2 separate regions of the Homo sapiens genome follow, and region 1 is linked to region 2. The links are contacts of gene promoters, found by promoter capture Hi-C in blood cells and fetal thymus (Javierre and others, 2016). All regions are on one chromosome and are shown on one strand. Each heading gives the region's core, a stretch centred on a gene start or on the middle of the fragment in contact. The rest is flanking DNA. Distances are from core to core; before and after follow the strand shown.

Region 1 (6,433 bases), core at 3,328-5,827, 1.2 Mb before region 2:
CATCAACCTCCAGAATTTTGAAAAGGAATGTTTTAAGCTAGATTGTCTAAGTAGGGTTATATATGACTTTTATTAAAAAGCCAATAATTAACTAGTTCACTAGTTCACTATTGGTCTAGCAGGCATAAATGCTCCCACCTCCACTATAGACAGCACAAGGAGAGTCCCAGATGTTTGTCTCCTAGTTGTAAACCAAGAATGCACTTGCTGATAGCACAAGAATGGAGAAAAACCCACAGCGCTAGTGTTGTCTTCTCAGGCATCCACAGATATGCAAGGCTAATTGGTAAATCAAAAGAACATATAATGTATTTCTGGGTAGAACCTACATAGCTGAAACGTAATCCTTGCTAAATTCAAAGCAAGAAGCAGGAAAGGGAATTTTATCCATTGTTATTTTACTACTGGTGGTCTAGGACTTGTATAAGCATGATCCGAGTCCATCGAGTCCATTAGGAAGAAAATCTCCTTTCCTTTATTACAAATATTTTTAAATACACCTAATTATCTTTCTTAAAACAGAAAAAAAAAATGATAGAATTTTTTTTGTCAATAAAACAGCATAGATTTTATGTGGGAAAGCACTGAAATATCCGATAAATGATACATTGGAATAAATGGGAAATATTAAGTTTTGTGTCTCATTACTTGTGAATTGATTATATTTTTGTTGCCTAGGTATACTTTTTAACCTTGAACTCACCCATTGATAAAACAGATGAAAGTTACAAATTAAATATTAGAGGAAAACAATATGATTTAAAAGCCCTTCCTAGACATCTTGTAGTGAGTGGGTTTTAAAAGGAGGCTTCTGGGATATAAAGTAAAAATGAATTTTGACAATTGATTTTTCCAATGCTTACTTCGTTTCAGCATTTCCCACTTTCCATACCCCAGTTTGTCATTGAAGCCTTTATATTCCAAGGACATTTCTGTAGAGCTAATAGGGCTCAGGACTCATGTTATTAAAACTCTGCTTGGTTTTACTTTTCACTATTGTAGTCTCTCCAGCTATGGCTGTCACTCATTAGAGCCCCAATGTGCTGCATAAGGCAATGCTTTGTAAACAAGGTACAGGGGGTCAAATGCTATGTTACCAGTGAGGAAAGCAAAGAGACAGCAGAAAATCAAAGAGATATACTGCAGGGAACAATATATGTGTCATAAAGTTTGGGGTTGTGTGGTGTTTAAATGAACTTGCTTAACATTCAAATCCCCAGAGTTTTTCACTTGGGGCATTTGCCAGTGAGACTATCGCTCATTGGCACATACTGCCTTCTCTAAAGCTTCCCCTTGTTTCCCACGAACCTAATAGTGCAGACCTAGAGCAAGGCATCCAACAAATCACAAAGCATGTCTGCATTCTGCTATGTATCAAAGTCTCTTAATATGCCAACAAAGTTCTCCAAGGTCAGGAAAGCAGTTTATCAACATTTTATATACCTTATAGCAGCAATAAATTTATTCCAGTGGAGGATCTATGAATATTTCAGATGCTCTATGAGAAAAATTCTATGTCTTTAGATAGTCTGTGTATCCCAGAATTTGGGCACAAGACACAGTCATTTTTCTCTTACCATGTTTTTATTGTTATTCAGTTCCAGTTAATGTAAAGCTATTCAGGTACTTTCTATAATATATGCTATTTAATAATATGATTTTTATTTAGAAATTAAACACTTTGATATTTTGTACATTAAATTTATTTTTTATTCATATTCTGAATATGTGCTGTATTAAACTTTTAGTTCAAGAAATAGGTTTCAAATGGTTTTCTCAAGCATCCCACAGAAAATTAATTTTCATATTTTGAGTTTTGCCTATTTGTTTTTTCCTCTTTATCACATTATAATTTATACTCAGAACAACTATAATACAGTCAGGTAAACATACATGTGCATTTGGCTTTAGAGCAGCATGATTTATAATCCTTTGGGTATATACCCAGTACTGGATGGCTGGGTCAAATGGTATTTCTAGTTCTAGATCCTTGAGGAATCGCCACACTGTATTCCACAATGGTTGAACTAGTTTACAGTCCCATCAACAGTGTAAAAGTGTTCCTGTTTCTCCACATCCTTTCCAGCACCTGTTGTTTCCGGACTTTTTAATGATCGCCATTCTAATTGGTGTGAGATGGTATCCCATTGTGGCTTTGATTTGCATTTCTCTGATGGCCAGTGATGATGAGCATTTTTTCATGTGTCTTTTGGCTGCATAAATGTCTTCTTTTGAGAAGTGTCTGTTCATAACCTTTGCCCACTTTTTGATGGGGTTGTTTGATTTTTTCTTGTAAATTTGTTTAAGTTCTTTGTAGATTCTGGATATTAGCCCTTTGTCAGATGGGTACATTGTAAATATTTTCTCCCATTCTGTAGGTTGCCTGTTCACTCTGATGGTAGTTTCTTTTGCTGTGCAGAAGCTCTTTAGTTTAATTAGATCCCATTTGTCAATTCTGGCTTTTGTTGCCATTGCTTTTGGTGTTTTAGACATGAAGTCCTTGCCCATGCCTATGTCCTGAATGGTAATGCCTAGGTTTTCTTCTAGGGTTTTTATGGTTTTAGTTCTAACATGTGAGTCTTTAATCCATCTTGAACTAATTTTTGTACAAGTAAGGAAGGGATCCAGTTTCAGCTTTCTACATATGGCTAGCCAGTTTTCCCAGCACCATTTATTAAATAGGGAATACTTTCCCCATTTCTTGTTTTTGTCAGGTTTGTCAAAGATCAGATGGTTGTAGATGTGTGGTATTATTTCTGAGGGCTCTGTTCTGTTCCAATAGTCTATATCTCTGTTTTGGTACCAGTACCATGCTGTTTTGGTTACTGTAGCCTTGTAGTATAGTTTGAAGTCAGGTAGCACAATGCCTCCAGCTTTGTTCTTTTGGCTTAGGATTGTCTTGGCAATGCTGGCTCCTTTTTGGTTCCATATGAACTTTAAAGTACTTTTTTTTCCAATTCTGTGAAGAAAGTCATTGGTAGCTTGCTGGGGATGGCATTCAATCTATAAATTACCTTGGGCAGTATGGTCATTTTAAAAGAGAATAAAATACCTAGGAATCCAACTTAGAAGGGATGTGAAGGACCTCTTCAGGTAGAACTACAAACCACTGCTCAACGAAATAAAAGAGGACACAAACAAATGGAAGAACATTCCATGCTCAGGGATAGGAAGAATCAATATCGTGGAAATTGTATTTCTTAAGTTGTTGGATCTCTATCTCATTCATCCTGTCTACCATAGGACATTAAAAATGAGTGAAAAGTATTAAAAATTATCTAAAACTCAGGTTGTAGTTGATCTACTGTCAAGAATAAAATATATATTTACCCAATAAATTTGTACAAAACAAACTCACTTGTGTAACTATTACCCTGTTCTTAAAACAGAACATTTCCAGCACACTGGAGTCTCCTTTTATGTCCTTCTTCCAATTATTATCCTTGTCTTCTCCAAAGTTAAACTGTCTTTTAAAACACTGTGTATCTTTTACCTGTTTTGGACTTTCATAAATAGAATATTGAAGTATGTATTCTTATCCATCTGGCTTCTTTCTATCAATATATTTATGTAGCTCTATTTTTAGTTGGTTTTACTGCTCTATCATATTCCATTAAATTAACATTTATTTATTGTTTGTAATGTTGATAAACATAGGTTGATTTTAGCTTCTATTGTAGATAATGCTGCTGGAAACATTTCTGTATGTGTTTCTTCAAGTACTTGTGCACATATTTCTGTGATGTATATATTAATAAATAGCGTAGAACTGCTAGGTCTTAAGGGCTACATATACTTAACCTGAAAGTCAAACATTTGTCTAAAATGATTAGAACAATTCATATTCTCATTGTTCCATGTCTTCACAGACATTTGTCTGTTAGCTATTTTGGTATAGCTGTAGTGCTATCTCATGTGGTTTCAATCTTCATTTCCTTGATTATAACAAGGTTGAGTATCTTTGTGTTTGCCATTTTGTTGTCCAATATTTTCTAGTACCTAGTCAAGTCTGTTGTGAAATTTTCTTTTTCCTTTTTTTAAACATTGATAGGTAGGTGTTTTTCATACCTTATGGATATAGGCATGTATTTCAAATATCTTCCCTTATTCTGAGTTGTCTTTTCACATTCTTTGTGATATATTTTGATGCCTAGATTGTATTAATTTTAGAGAAGTCCAATTCGATAATCTTTTTTTCATGAGAAGTATACTTTTCCTCAATACAAATCTTTTTATCCTATGGAAATGATGTTATTACATATTAGCATTACTCTTTCTCCTTCACATTCAGAACTGTGATCTACCTATAATATCAGATAAGGCAACATTTTTTAAAACATTTTTTATATATTTAGTAAAAGTTTTATTTTTCTATATTTAAGAGCCACTTTTTTGGTCATAGTTTTATGTTTGTCTGTTTCACCCTTTCTATTCCATTCTGTTGTTTACTTTGCCTATCCCCACAGCAATACTATACTTAATTATTAAAGCTTTATGATTCCTTATATTTTATAGAGCAAGTCTTCCTGCATTGTTCTTCCTCTTCCAGATTATGCCAGATATCAGCTAATTACCTCTCCGTTTCAAATTTGCCCCTCAGTACCTGCGATAATGAGTTGGATTGATGCATTTCAGTTTTGCAGTAAGCTCCATATTAAGCTTGGTCAGTAGAGGGCATGAGAGGGATTTAGGAAGAATAGTTTGATCTGGTGTACTTGCTCTTTTAAAACAAGTTTTCCAATTTTCCAGTCTGTGTCTTTTAATTGGAGCATTTAGCCCATTTACATTTAAGGTTAATATTGTTATGTGTGAATTTGATCTTGTCATCATGATGTTAGCTGGTTATTCTGCTCGTTAGTTGACGCAGTTTTTTCCTAGCATTGATGGTCTTTAAAATTTGGCATGTTTTTGCAGTGGCTGGTACTGGTTGTTCCTTTCCATGTTTAGTGCTTCCTTTAGGAGCTCCTGTAGGCAGGCCTGGTAGTGACAAAATCTCTCAGCATTTGTTTGTCTGTAAAGGATTTTATTTCTCCTTCACTTATGAAGCTTAGTTTGGCTGGATATGAAATTCTGGGTTGAAAATTCTTTTCTTTAAGAATGTTGAATATTGGCCCCCACTCTCTTCTGGCTTGTAGAGTTTCTGCCGAGAGATCAGCTGTTAGTCTGATGGGCTTCCCTTTGTGGGTAACCCGGCCTTTCTCTCTGGCTGCCCTTAACATTTTTTCCTTCATTTCAACTTTGGTGAATCTGACAATTACGTGTCTTGGAGTTGTTCTTCTCGAGGAGTATCTTTGTGGTGTTCTCTGTATTTCCTGAATTTGAATGCAAGGACTTCATGTCTAAAACACTGAAAGCAATGGCAACAAAAGCCAAAATTGACAAGTGGGATCTAATTAAACTAAAGAGCTTCTGCACAGCAAAAGAAACTACCATCAGAGTGAATAGGCAACCTACAGAATGGGAGAAAATTTTTGCAATCTACTCATCTGACAAAGGGCTAATATCCAGAATCTACAAAGAACTCACACAAATTTACAAGAAAAAAACAACCCCATCAACAAGTGGGCGAAGGATATGAACAGACACTTCTCAAAAGAAGACATTTATGCAGCCAACAGACACATGAAAAAATGCTCATCATCACTGGCCATCAGAGAAATGCAAATCAAAACCACAATGAGATACCATCTCACACCAGTTAGAATGGCACTCATTAAAAAGTCAGGAAACAACAGGTGCTGGAGAGGATGTGGAGAAATAGGAACACTTTTACACTGTTGGTGGGACTGTAAACTAGTTCAACCATTGTGGAAGTCGGTGTGGCAATTCCTCAGGGATCTAGAACTAGAAATACCATTTGACCCAGCCATCCCATTACTGGGTATATACCCAAAGGATTATAAATCATGCTGCTATAAAGACACATGCACACATATGTTTATTGCAGCACTGTTCTCAATAGTAAAGACTTGGAACCAAGCCAAATGTCCAACAATGATAGACTGGATTAAGAAAATGTGGCACATGGCCGGGCGCAGTGGCTCACGCCTGTAATCCCAGCACTTTGGGAGGCCGAGGCGGGTGGATCATGAGGTCAGGAGATCGAGACCATCCTGGCTAACAAGGTGAAACCCCGTCTCTACTAAAAATACAAAAAATTAGCCGGGCGCGGTGGCGGGCGCCTGTAGTCCCAGCTACTCGGGAGGCTGAGGCAGGAGAATGGCGTGAACCCGGGAAGCGGAGCTTGCAGTGAGCCGAGATTGCGCCACTGCAGTCCGCAGTCCGGCCTGGGCGACAGAGCGAGACTCCGTCTCAAAAAAAAAAAAAAAAAAAAAAAAAAGAAAATGTGGCACATATACACCATGGAATACCATGCAGCCATAAAAAAGGATGAGTTCATGTCCTTTGTAGGGACATGGATGAAACTGGAAAC
Region 2 (5,788 bases), core at 2,170-4,669:
GAGGGTTCTTGGATTGAAGCTGAAATCGGTTAAATACACATTCACACACACATATATATACGTGTCACTCACATACACAGAATTCACACAACTCGCAGCTTTGCAGCCACATGCACCAGGGCAACGGCCGAGAAACGCTGTCAATTGTAGGGATGGCAATTCTTTCAGGCTTATGGGTTCTATCTAAGGCTCTTGGGATTGAGGAGCGCCAGTATCACCTCCAATCAGAGGTGTAGCCCATCAGAGAGTTCGGGCTGCTTTAGCGCACCTCACCCCTAGACAGAACATAGCGAGCCCTCGGTGCACTCCCGCAGCCCAGGATGGGCTATGGGGGTCGGGACACTGAACACAACTTCACCAGCAGGGCACAAGTGTCCCTTACCCCCATTCCCCCATTCCCACCCCAGAAGCCAGACCTGAAATATCTCATTCTCCTTGTCTCAACATGGCACAAACAGCTACCAATTCACCACAACAAAGCTCTTCAACCAGGAGCCGAGTTCCAGCAGTGTACAAAGTCCAGCCCCCCGGAAAACTCTGCTACTGAAGGACAAGGACCGCGGCTTTGTTTAGAATTCTCTCCCTGGCGACAAGGCCTACCATTCCCTAATAATGGACTAGTCACTGGAGATGGGATTTAGTTATTTGATGAAAAGGGGAGGTCGAGACGAGAGGAAGGTGGACATGTTTGCTGGAGTATCTCTGTCCTAACTCCGATTGCTTGCAGTACCCCTGATAGTTAAACTTATCCTGTCGGAACCCTTACAAGTCAAAGAAAGTTAACTGCGCTTCTTTATGTGTCTCATCTCCAAATCGGGGAAGTGGGTGGGTAGATTCACTTTTAAACTCACAGACCTGGGCAGATTTGTTCTTTCCACCACCCAACTACACCCCCACTTCCCTTCGTTTAAACTCTGTGCATGAGCTACTGAGAGTTCCTGCCTTCCACTTCTTCTCGTTGGCCCTCTATCACATAAAGCACCCCATCTCACTACCTCCTTGGGTTTAGGGTGTCTGGGGCGCCCTAGCCCCTTTCAAGAATCACGCGCAGGAGACTGGGGGATTGGAGCAGAAAATGGGGTGGGAACCCCGGAAAATCCGCAGGAATCCAGAGACCAGCTTGCCAAAGTTGCTCCAACACAGCTGCTAGGAAGCTGCTCTCACTGAACTGGCGGCGTAACCCTTCTCCCGCGTGTCCCCAGTTTCCTTGCCTCCCGGCCGGGGTAAAAATGCGAAAGCCCCGAACCTTCCAAGACTTACCAAGTAGACGGTGGGCTGCAGGAGGAAAAGCACGTACCAGCACGCAGCCTGCATTCTCCCGCGTCTCAAACTTCCTTGGCGGTGCCTTCTTTGAGTCTTTGTTCCTTCAGAAACATAGATCCACCTGACATCCACTTTACAGAGCAAGGAGCGCTCTCAGCAGCCTAGATGCAAATAAAATTAGACATCCCATGACTACGCGGGCAAGGTTAGGCTTGACAATCAAGCGGGGAAAGGGGGTCGTAGCGGGGAGTGGGGGACCAAAAAAAAAAGGGAGGGAGGGTACGAAAAATTGAAAAGCGAGTAAATCCAGCGCCTGAGACCAGCAAGCGCGCGGTCCGCAGCTGGGGAGGCGGGCGGGCGGACGAGAGGGAGGGTGAGGGGCTCCTTGCCCCCTGCGCTCCTCGGGTGCGAGTTCCCAGGCGGCGGAGCACACTGAGCCGCGTGCAGGCTGGTTCGGAGCCCAGGCTTCTCCGGCAGCGAGACCTGCCCTTGTGTTGGGTGGCCCGGCGGCTCGGACTAAAGGCGGCGGCTGGTTCTTCGCCAGCCCTGGCAGTGCTCACACACGTACACACCAGCAGAGAGAGATAGAGGGGAAAGATAAAGGGAGAGAGAGAGATTGAGCGAGGGGGGCGCGGTGAGAGGAAGAGGTAGGTAGAACTGACCGCGATTAGGTGCTAGGTACCTCAACACGTTCGGTGAAGTGGGGGTGGGGAAAGAGAATGCAATTTGCATACAGGAAAGCAGGGATCAGTTTACCCATTCGAACCCCTGGCGCACACAGAGATACCCACGAATGCTCACAGTCACATCTCTAGCACTACTTTTTTCGAGCCAAAGGGTACAGCCGGTCGCTAACTTCTAGAGAAGAAGCCTCCTCCGAGCTGTGAGGGTCACCTGCCAGGCTTGTTCTCTTTCCTAACCAGCGCCCCTCCCTGCCGTCCCTTCCTCGTGCCCACCACCCCGCTCCCAGGTGTACCCTCCGGGAACAGCGGAGGCAAAGGGTACGTACCGCACAGGACTTGGGGCGAATCCTGCGAGAAGGGACCGCTCTGGGCAGGCTCCATGGAGAAGCTACTCGGGCCTGGCGTCTCCAGCGCCCCGGACGTGCCCTCCCAGGCGCTCCGTCTCCATGCTCGAGCGCAGACGGGTCCGGCTGCCTCGTCCAGCTTTGGCGGAGTCGCCGTCCCAGTGCCCGGGTCGCGCTCAGGATTGGTTCGCGGGAGCCAAGGCTTGGCACAGTTGGATTCACGGTGCAGGAAACTTAAGAGGCAAGAGAGGGAGGGAGCAGTAGAGGAGGAAAGAGAGGAAGACAGAAAGGGAGGGAGAGCAAGAGGGAGGGAGAGAGGGGAATGCGCCGGGCTGCTGCACCGGACGGACTGGGACTGCCAGCGCTGGCACCCGGACGAACAGTCCAGGACTCTCGGCTTCCCACAGCTGCCTGAGGATGGTGGAAATGACTTAAGGGGAGGAGACTGAGCAAGTCCTCTGGACTTGAAGTGGAGAGATAAGACACTGGCCTTTCGGAAGAAAAGAGAACCACACGGCAGACGAGAGCAGTCCGAGTTTCTGAGGGAGGGGTGGGGTGGCGAGAATCTGGAGCCTGCGGCACACGGAGCAGCTGTACCTCTACCCGCGACGCTGGGAAGCCCAGGAGCCGGTCCCCAGTGGAGTCCCGGGCGCTGTCCCTGGTGCTGCCCGGCCACCCGGGGACGCTCTGGAGCGCTTTGGGTTTCCGGCGGCCGCGGTGGTCGTGGTTTCTCCGCAGAGCCGCGGCTTGGCACGCCTACCTTCCTGACACGGACAATTACTTTGGCACGTGGGTGAATGATTCCTCAAAGACTAATTAGTACCCTGTGTAAACAGATCCGGCTCTCAGGCTCTCGCGGGCTGGGCCCACAGGGACAAGTGGCTCCCGCGGTGTCTTCGGTGGCCGCAGCGCCCCCTTCCCGGGGGGCGTAGGGAAGATCGCAAAGCCCAGGGGAGTGGCGGGAAGAGCAGCCGGGAGTCGCGTAGGGCGGGGAAGGGCGCGGGAGGGTGCAGGGCGCCCCTGCCGGCCTCGAGCGCCGACGCCGGGCGCCTCCGACCTGTGGCTGCCGGGCCGGAGGCGGGGGAGCCGCAGACTGCCAGCCATTCAGCTCGAGACAGCCGAGAGGACTGGGCGACCTTGGCCTCTGGACTCCTCGCCGCCGGCTGGGCTGAGCGTGAAGGGGGAGGAGGAGGACGGGGGATGCTTCGAGCCGTCACCACCTCCCTCGCTACTGACACCTCCCACTCAACCAGCGTCTCCCAGACTCGGCCTCTGTGCTCCGACTCTGGCTGTCTCTGTCTTTCTCAGTCTCTCCCTTACTGTCCCTATTTCTCAGTATCTTTCTCACTCCCTCTCTCTCTCTGTCTCCTTCTTCTGTCATTCTTGTGGTCTGCGTCTCTGTCCCTCAGCATCTTTCTGCCTTTTTCTGCCTTTCTGTGTGTCTCACTCAGGATTTCTGACTCTAGGTCTCTGTATCTCTGTGCCTCTACCGTGTCCCTGCCATTCCCCCTCAAACCCTGTTTTGTTTTTTGTTTTTTTTCCTCCACCCTTCCAGTGCACCACCACCAGAGCAGTTTCACCAGTCTCGGGAGACAGCCAGGACCAGCTTCTTCTGGTGCTGGTGGGGTTGCCAGTGCTCCTTGAGCTTGCCCAAATTCAGGGCACAAATCGGAACCCGGAAGAGGGTATCTCTTCCCCAACCTTGCCCATTGCATCTCCAAGCCTGCCCTTCACCAGAGCCTCTCCTGGGGTGATGCACATATCCATATCAATCTGTAGGAATTGTATGGAAATTTATCTCAGGAACCTGAGTTAGTGACATCAAAATCGAATTGTGATATTTAATGAGTCTGGAATGTCCTTTCCTCAAGTGTGGCTGTGGACACTCTGGCAGGTCTGGGCCTAGATACAATGTACACTCTAGACAATAGGTCCCAGGCTGAATTCCCCTGGATGATGGAGACCACCCCTCAAACAAGGCAGTGACAATCAGCAGAGCCACCCAGTCCTGCAGCAGAGGCAAGAGGAGCCCCACTGAGACCTTCCCCTGGAATCAGATCTCCAAAGACCTCCAAATTAGATCCCCACTGTAGAACATACCTACCAGCACTTTGAGGTCTACACTCTCCCTTCCAGCTAAAAATAACTCTTTAAAGAGCAAGCTCTTCTAATCTTAAAAGTTGTACTCTGCTGCTGTGACCTCCTGGAATTCATTGGGGCATATGCAGAATAAAGCAGTGAAGCACACCTTCTAACTGTGTCTCTGAAAATCCACTTCAGAAAAAACGCACATGTACATATAGCATAATTACAATGTTTTCTTGACTATTTTCACTTACCAGCTATTTCATTTTCTTAAAAACTTTAAACTTTAAAGAAGAAAAATTAAAGTATTGGGGCACCCGTATCTGAGGCCAAATGGTCAAAGCAGGGGCAAAAAAAGCTTTGTCTAATTCCATCCTCTAGGATTCATAAGGCTATCCTAAAATTGATTCCTATTTGTACAGGAGCTCCCAGGCCTCCCAGACTGGAGTGTAGAGCTGGAGCAAATGTTGCCTGCCTCTATCTGGATTCCCAGCTACAATGCTGTCAGAGCTGAACTTCTGTCTGACCTTTGGGAAAATGAGAAAGAATCCGGCTAGCTTTGGAATATACCAAGTTCTTTTCTAAACCTTACTTTAAAAACATTCTGCTTCTAGTGCCATTTAGCCTTAAAAAAATACTGCTTGTGAAATAGAAAGATGATCAGAGACCTTAAAATGTCTGTCTGAATGGGACTGATTATTTAAGAAAAGCACCACAGGCACCTAGTAATGGGAACAGGTTTGACACTTTGTTCTATGACACAGGATGCCAAAGAGCTTTTTCTGTTAATGACCTGAGATCTTCTGCCCAGACATTCAACCTTCGCTGGATCCTATGAGATACTTGGCCTGTGATATAAAACAGTGGCGGATTGTCATTTTTCATATTTCACAGGGGTCTTCATCTCCTATAATACTCAACCAGAAAAGGATACCGAGCCACCAAGTAACACAGAAAAATGTATCGTTTCTGCTAAACCACTCCAGTTTTAATAATATAATATTGGGGGAGAAGTGGACAAGAATGGTTCATTCACCCTCCTTTTTTCCTATCATTTGCTTTATAAAGAACAATGGAGCAATAAAAGCATGATTTTCTTACATTCTTCTGTTTCAAGTAGTATCCTACTCTAAAATGCACTCTTAGAATACATGAACAGTCAGCTTCATTGAGTGAGAACAAAAGTGTGATTACCTTAAGAAGTATAGTGTTTGTACCAATTTTTACTGACTTTACTCATGCTGAAAATTCTTTCAGAAATACTGTTTCCAAACTTTGTGTGCAATGCAACTTAATACAGATATAAACTTAGTATGAATGATAACCACTGTAAAACACAACCCTCTGCATCTGCTTTTCCCCATGTCTACCTGGTCCAACCTGAAATGAACAGTACGAGAAATAATATAGATC

Evidence for each region. The method cuts DNA at HindIII sites, captures the fragments that hold promoters and counts their contacts. A CHiCAGO score of 5 or more calls a contact.
Region 1: a fragment that was not itself captured here is called in contact with the fragment with the promoter of NXPH1 in region 2 in 1 of 17 cell types (endothelial precursors); the score reaches 5.7 in endothelial precursors.

What each region holds. Positions count from the first base shown.
Region 1 is chr7:9,655,693-9,662,125 of GRCh38, reverse strand. The region is part of intron 1 of LOC105375148 (a long non-coding RNA gene); the gene reads right to left. The region is part of intron 3 of LOC105375145 (a long non-coding RNA gene); the gene reads left to right. Among named protein-coding and RNA genes, the nearest start is that of MGC4859, 1.1 Mb to the left of the region's middle. The HindIII fragment of the contact is 169 bases long and covers 4,493-4,661 here.
Region 2 is chr7:8,431,240-8,437,027 of GRCh38, reverse strand. It overlaps NXPH1 (neurexophilin 1), which reads right to left and starts at 3,419. Exons shown (of 3, transcript NM_152745.3): 1 at 2,273-3,419; 2 at 1,261-1,424. The coding sequence starts at 1,314. RefSeq lists enhancers at 1,212-1,759, 1,760-2,307, 2,308-2,855. The HindIII fragment of the contact is 6,580 bases long and covers 1-4,735 here.